Regions from separate parts of the Homo sapiens genome. Here region 2 is linked to region 1. Evidence: promoter capture Hi-C in 16 types of primary human blood cells and fetal thymus (Javierre and others, 2016). All regions are on one chromosome and are shown on one strand. The core of a region is centred on a gene start or on the middle of the fragment in contact, and the rest is flanking DNA. Distances in the headings are between cores, read along the strand shown. Region 1 holds the start of UBE2O (ubiquitin conjugating enzyme E2 O). Region 2 has its middle 1.9 kb from the start of ST6GALNAC1.

Region 1 (3,618 bases), core at 220-2,719:
GAACTCCTGACCTCAGGTGATCAGGTGATCCATCTGCTTCTGCCTCCCAAAGTGCTGGGATTACAGGCATGAGCCACCACGCCTGGCCCTAGAGTTACTTTTTATATTTTATTTATTTTTATTTATTTATTTTTTTGAGACAGAGTCTTGCTCTGTTGCCCAGGGTGGAGTGCAGTGGCGCGATCTGGGCTCACTGCAACCTCAGCCTCCCAGGTTCAAGCGATTTGCCTGCCTCAGCCTCCTGAGTAGCTGGGACTACAGCCATGTGCCACCACGCCCAGCTATTTTTTTTTTTTTTCCGTATTTTTAGTAGAGATGGGGTTTCGCCATGTTGGCCAGGATGGTCTCAATCTCTTGACCTCGTGATCCGCCCACCTCAGCCTCCCAAAGTACTGGGATGACAGGTGTGAGCTGCCGCGCCCGGCCTACTTTTTATATTTTAAAATGACAATATGGAGCAGACCATAACAGTTCTGCCAGTCTGGAATTTAGTCTAGGCAGGGAGTTTGGAAATAGTACAACAATGGTTAAGCTTATCGAAGGAGCTAAATGCCAGGCACTGTTCTACTTCACTTAATCCTCCAATTGCCCAATGAGATGAGTATTGCTATTATCATCCCTATTTCACAGATGAGCAAATTAAGATGAAAATAAGTTAATCAGTGTGCCTATTTTTATAGATTAGTAAGTGGCAGTGCCAAAAATTGGAATCCGTGGTCCCCACTCTTAGCTACCTTACTATACTACCTCTTGCCATTCATTCTTGGCTTCAGGGAGCTTTGAATTTATCTGCATGGATTTGTAGCCAAACCACTGGGACCACTGATCCTTTTGTTACCTTTCTCTGGGCCTCCTTCACCAGCTTCTGGGTCAACTTCTGAGGGGTCATGACGTTCGAACTGCTTGGAATTCCTGAATACAGTGCATTATACATATGCTCTACACGTATCTATTATAGCCTTACAAGTTGGAGTTGTTTGTTATCTATTTAATGTGTATTTGTTTTGTCTCCCCAACTAGACTGGAAACACCTAGAGGACAGGGACAGTATCTTTCTCTTTCTGCAATGCTCCCAGTGCCTGGGGGCTAGGCTAGGACGCCAAGGGAGCTCATTAAAAGTTGTTGACAGTCTCTCCACCATCCTGTGCCCCACCCCGACCACTCCCCTCTTCCTCGGTGGCCACTCCACTTCCTCCTCCCGGGTCCCCGCCCCTTCTCGCTCCCTTTAGTTGAATCCTCACTGGTCTCGCCCCTTCTTAGTGGATTCCATCCTGCCCCCGCCCCCCGCGGCATCTTCAGCGTCCCCTAGCGACGAGGCGGTGGCTCCTAGCAACTGCATCCCGGCTCCCTGACGACGGCGCCACGCAGGGACACGTCAGCGCGCTATGGCCCCGCCCCCGGCGCCCGCTGGTCCCGCCTCCCCGCGCCTCGTTCGCCGCCGCTGTCGCCGCCGCCGCCCGAGACTCGCGCAGAGCAGTTATGGCGGATCCCGCAGCCCCCACGCCCGCAGCTCCCGCTCCAGCCCAGGCCCCGGCTCCAGCCCCGGAGGCAGTCCCGGCCCCAGCCGCAGCCCCCGTCCCGGCGCCGGCGCCCGCCTCGGACTCGGCCTCCGGGCCGTCCTCGGACTCCGGCCCAGAAGCCGGCTCGCAGCGCCTGCTGTTTTCTCACGACCTGGTGTCGGGCCGTTACCGTGGCTCCGTGCACTTCGGGCTGGTGCGCCTCATCCACGGCGAGGACTCGGACTCGGAGGGCGAGGAGGAGGGCCGCGGGAGCTCGGGGTGCTCCGAGGCCGGGGGCGCGGGCCACGAGGAGGGCCGGGCCAGCCCCCTGCGCCGCGGCTACGTGCGCGTCCAGTGGTACCCGGAGGGCGTCAAGCAGCATGTGAAGGAGACCAAGGTGCGGCGGGCGGGGGCTGGGCGGCGCGGGCGGCAGGGGGTCGGCGGCCGGGCCGAGGCCAGGGAAGGACGGCGTGCAGGGCCCTGCCCGGAGCGGTGCCACTGCAGTGGCCGACGCGGGAGGACAGCCCCAGTGGAGGGTACACTCCATGCAAAGTCATTGCAGCAGCTCTGGGCGCACACGCCAGCCAGGCACTGCTGGCCCGGGACCGGGCGGGCCCTGGGCTTCCCGACTTGAGGGGACTTCTAAGACATGTTATGCTGTGGTGTCGGCCTCGAGATTTAGAGACGTGGACCGACTCCCGTGGGGACTCAGGTTCTGGGGCGCGTTCGGCGTTACACCAGTGCGGCGTTTTGCTGACCCCCAAGGAGCTCGGTACTGCATTGTGCATCCAGAAATGAAGGCCGTGCCGGGTCCGTGCAGGGAGGGGTTGTGGGCATTCCAAAACAAAGATAGAGGTGAAAATCCCAGCCGAACCCAAGAAGTTCACTAGCTTACAGGCTGCATTATGGTGAAGCCACCCAGCCTCTTTTTGTTTTACCCTGCTGCCTCCTTTTAATTGCTGCAGGGAACTTTGTGAGTAAAATCATTAGCAATCAGAGCCCCGGTATGAATAGTACTTGGGGGGGAGGATTCTGACAGCTGCGACCGGGATTGATGACTCCTAAGTGCATATGGACTCCTTGAAAAAAATAATCCAGAACCCTGGGTAGAGGGGAGTCACCAATTTGGAAACCCGAAGGTTTTTTCTTGACCTGAAGCTGTTAAGCAGACATCTGACTCCCGTATGGTTTTTGGGGTGATGCTAGTGAGTATAGCAGTTTTACAAAACAAAGAGGCTTGTCATCATAAACCCGAAACCTTGAACCCGGGTTGGTTTGGTGGCTTGTTTTCCAGAATGTGAATTCCTATCAGTAATTGACACACACACACACACACACACACCCCCCTGTATCTCACACCCCTTCTTTCTCTCCTACTTCCCCTCCCCTTCAAGAAAACATTTCTAAGCAGGAATCAGGCCTACGCTGTTTTAGGTCCTTGGGAGGTTGAGAGGTCTGATTTCAGGGGAGGGCACTTTGGAAGTTGATCTGGGTTTCTCACACAGTGGGAGACAAAGACTACAGAGGAACGGGGTTTCATGTCAAACTACAAAGCGGGGTCTGTGACAACGGCTTGAGAAGGAAAAAGGCCCCACTCCAGAGAAGAGCACATGATCCATTTCCTAGAGGCAGAAGTGACTGCTGATACCAGCGGGGTCTTTTTGTTGGGGATGCACATACATCCACAGACACAAATCCACACACAGGACCCTGCTTCCCCTCAGAGAAATGTGAATCAGGCAACAGCTCTGAGACTTGGAAGGAAAATTATCAGTCCATTTACAAGAGTATTTGGAAAATATTACTTTTGTGCAACAGAATGCTTGTTAAAAATTACCCAGTATTGTGTCAGTAAAAGAGGGTTATTGCTGTATACTGTGTGACACCAGATGATTGCTGGTGTCTTTCTGTGAGTTTTTAAGAATGTTTTTCACCACCCATCTATTTGAGAGATTCGTGATTTTTGGAACGCAACTCATTTGACTGCAGCATCCTCTGTGTTGTGGCCTCCTGCCCTAGGACTCAGGGAGGTAGGCCCAGCTCACTACTGGGAGCCGCTATGTTTATCAGTTGTTGTTCCCGTCCGTCTTGACTTTGGTGGTTAACTTTGTTTGCAGTT
Region 2 (3,534 bases), core at 1,035-3,534, 190 kb before region 1:
AAAGCAGCTATTATGAATATGTTTTAAAAATCGAAGTAGACCAGGCATAGTGGTTCACGCCTATAATCTCAATGCTTCAGGAGTTCTAGGCAGGAGGATTGCTTAAGGCCAGGAGTTCAAGACCAGCCTGGGCAACACAGTGAAAACCTGTTTCTACAAAATATATATATATTTAAATAAATTAGCCTGTAGTCTTAACTACTAGGGAGGTTGGGGAGAAAGGATCACGTGAGGCCAGGAGTTCAAGGTTACAGTGACCTATCATCACGCCACTGCACTTCAGCCTGAGTGACAGAGCAAGACCTTGTCTCCAAAAAAAAAAGTTTTTAATGTAAACCATGTTTAAAGAATTGAAGATTAAAGAAAGGCATGATAATAATGACTCATGAAATAGAGAATGTTCACTAAAAAGATAGAACAAAATTATTAAGTAAATGAAAATTCTGAAGTTGAAAAATAAATAATCAAAATGAAAAATTCACTAGAGGGGCTCAATAGTAGATTTGAGTTGGCAGAAGGAAGAATCAGCCAACATGAAGACAGATTAATACAGATGAAGAACACTACGAAAAATAATAAGTAAAAATGAACAGAGCCTCAGAGAAATGTAGAATACTGTTAAGCACACCAACATACTCATCCTAGGAAAGAATGCTCAAGAGGCAGAGATAGAGAGAAAAAAATATTCAAACAAATAATACCTGAAAACTTCTGAAATTTGTTGAAAAACACTAATACATAGATCCCAGAAACTCCAAGTGAATAAATGCAGGAAGACCCACACAGACACATCATAGTCAAAATACTGAAAGCCAAAGATAGAGAAAAATCTTGAAAGAAGCAAATGAAAAACAATCTAAATTACTTTGTGCTCATGCACTTCTCTTTTGAACTGGTTATTATATCTGCCTGGTCCTCTCATGAGTAGAATCAAATCTTTAGCACATTTTTATGTCTTCTATCTATTTGAGTAATGATTTTACCTTTTACTGAAAATTATCTTTTAACAACTCTTATCTGCATGTAAGTTCTCACATGTCCCATCAGCTGATGTATACTAAAGTTCAAAGACTCAAGCTCAAAGCTTTAGTTTAAAAAGGAGAAAAAGTTTTTGCCATTGAGCTTAAGAGAATAAAATAAAATAAAACAATAAAAAGGAGAGAAAGGTAGATCTTACCAAACACAAAATTGTGACGATGTTTAAAAAATAATTGGCAGCTGGGCGTGGCGGCTCACATGAAGTGCTCCCAGCACTTTGGGAGGCTGAAGTGGGGTCGCTTGAGACCAGGAGATCAAGACCAGACTGCACGACATAGCAAGACCCCCCCATCTCTACAAAAAAAATTTGCCAGGTGTGGTGGCACCCACCTGTAATCCCAGCTACTTTGGAGGGAGGCTGCCGCAGGAGGATCTTGTGAGCTCAGGAATTCAAGGCTTCAGTGAACTATGATTGCACCACTGCACTCCAGCCTGGATGACAGAAAGAGGCCTTGTCTCAAAAAGCAAAAACAAAATAATTGGAAAGTCAATTTCTCCTAAAACACACACTTCTCTGGATCCCACATTCTGCCCAGGCACATGCTACAGCAGCAGTGGGCTGGAACCTGAGAACCAGGAAACTAGGACTCTGGATTATCCTGCCACACCAGTTGGCCACAAGGTCTTCAAGTTCAACCTGCCTCTAATGTGGCGAGAGGGACAGATTGTCCACAGTAGCTCAGCTTGCACCCAGGAGCTCAGCTGGATCTCCATGCCCTGCGGAAGGCAGCGAGCACTGACAGCCAGTGCCTTCTTCAGAACACAGGGCACGATGAAAGAGATACTCTATTTAGTCACACTAGTACTGTGGGTAAGAACATGCCTTTTCACTGTGCACTTATTTGCATAGCGTTGCAAGCAGGCACCAGGATACAGGAATATAATTGTACATGTCAAGTGCATAAAGGAACTCAGGATAAGGGGCCAGTTAGGACAAAGAGTTATGACTTGATACAGATCAATTCAGAAAATGTTTATAGAGTTAACATATGAGCATCTGTAGGTTAGGCACGGTGAGAGAGAAAGAGAGAGGTTGAGTCAGTACTAACAGAGATGTTTCTCCTTGCCACCATGACTTGAAACAGTGCTGTGAGTTGCAGTGTACAGTAGGGGATAAAGGAAACCATCAGTCGTCTGTATTACCCTCAGCTGCTCAGACGTATGTTCCTGCCTTTTTCGTCCTCCTTGAGGAAGGTGGTTTAATCATTTATCGGTGCGTGCCATGGGTGAAGGCCAAGAGCCTTGTGTACAGAACTGAAAACTGTACGTTAGGAGAAATGCCCACCGCCAGGTGTGAACAGTGAGCCCAGGCTCCAAAACCTCTCCCACAGTTCAACACCCTGGACAATATTTTTATAAAATTACTAACTCACAGTACTTTATGGAGGGCTGCTTCTCTGAATTTTTAAAGTTTTCTACAAATGGTCTTGATGTTTTTCCTCTGAGGTGTACTTTTTTTTCCCAAGAATTATGTGGGTTTTGTTTTGCATTGCTTTGATCAAGGTAGAGTTAATGATTTCTCGTAGGTGCTACTAAGCAGTGGATACGAATGCAATCGGCCAGGCACGGTGGCTCACACCTGTAATCCTAGCACTTTGGGAGGCCGAGGCAGGTGGATCATGAGGTCAGAAGATCGAGACCATCCTGGCCAGCATGGTGAAACCCCGTCTCCACTAAAAATACAAAAATTAGCCGGGTGTGGTGTTGGGTGCCTGTAGTCCCAGCTACTCAGGAGGCTGAGGCAGGAGAATCACTTGAGCCCGGGAGGCGGAGGTTGCAGTGAGCCAAGATTGCGCCACTGCACTCCAGGCTGGCAACGAGTGAGAATGTCTCAAAAAAAAAAAAGAAAGAAAAATGCAATCATGGCTGGGCATGGTGGCCGATGCCTGTAATCCCAGCACTTTGGGAGGCTGAGGTGGGAGGATCACTTAAGTCCAGGAGTTTGAGACCAGCCTGGGCAACATACTGAGACCCATCTCTATTTCTTAAAAAAAGAATGCAATCTCTAGGTCAGTTGGATCTGGACCCCAAGCCAGTGGCTCACCATGTGCTCTTGGGCTGGCAGCTTGTTCTTGGAGGCCATTTCCTCCTCTGTCAAATGGAGGTGATGACAGTACCCAGCCCCTAGAGTGGCTGTGAGGGTTCCATGAGTGCCTGTGAAGACTCCCCACTGCCCAGCTCAGAGTGAGCCCTCATACGTGCTGGTCATTGTTGTAATGGTCATGATTTCAGAAGAGAAACAGAGAAGGTTGAGCTAAAGTGTTGAACATGTGTGTTGGGTGCCTACCACAAACAAAGCCCTGTGCATGGTGGCCTCAAGGTGTCTTCATGATAATCCCAAAAGGAAGATAACTGCTTTTTTCCATTTATATGGCGGCAGATGGGTTAAGTAACCTGACCAAGATGAGACTGCATATAATGTGGTTATATTTCTCATAAAGCTTGACTTTCAGATATTGGCTTCAAAGACAAAAAAGGAAGGTAAACATGTTTGAA

The links. Contacts are between HindIII fragments. The CHiCAGO score rates a contact against its expected background, and 5 or more counts as called.
Region 2: a fragment that was not itself captured here is called in contact with the fragment with the promoter of UBE2O in region 1 in 1 of 17 cell types (endothelial precursors); the score reaches 5.2 in endothelial precursors.

The regions. Positions count from the first base shown.
Region 1 is chr17:76,451,003-76,454,620 of GRCh38, reverse strand. It overlaps UBE2O (ubiquitin conjugating enzyme E2 O), which reads left to right and starts at 1,469. Exons shown (of 18, transcript NM_022066.4): 1 at 1,469-1,896. The coding sequence starts at 1,480. It also overlaps a transcript of AANAT not described here. RefSeq lists silencers at 1,295-1,463, 1,258-1,797, 1,918-2,117. The HindIII fragment of the contact is 7,923 bases long and covers 535-3,618 here.
Region 2 is chr17:76,643,876-76,647,409 of GRCh38, reverse strand. No RefSeq gene overlaps it. Among named protein-coding and RNA genes, the nearest start is that of ST6GALNAC1, 1.9 kb to the right of the region's middle. The HindIII fragment of the contact is 2,395 bases long and covers 1,087-3,481 here.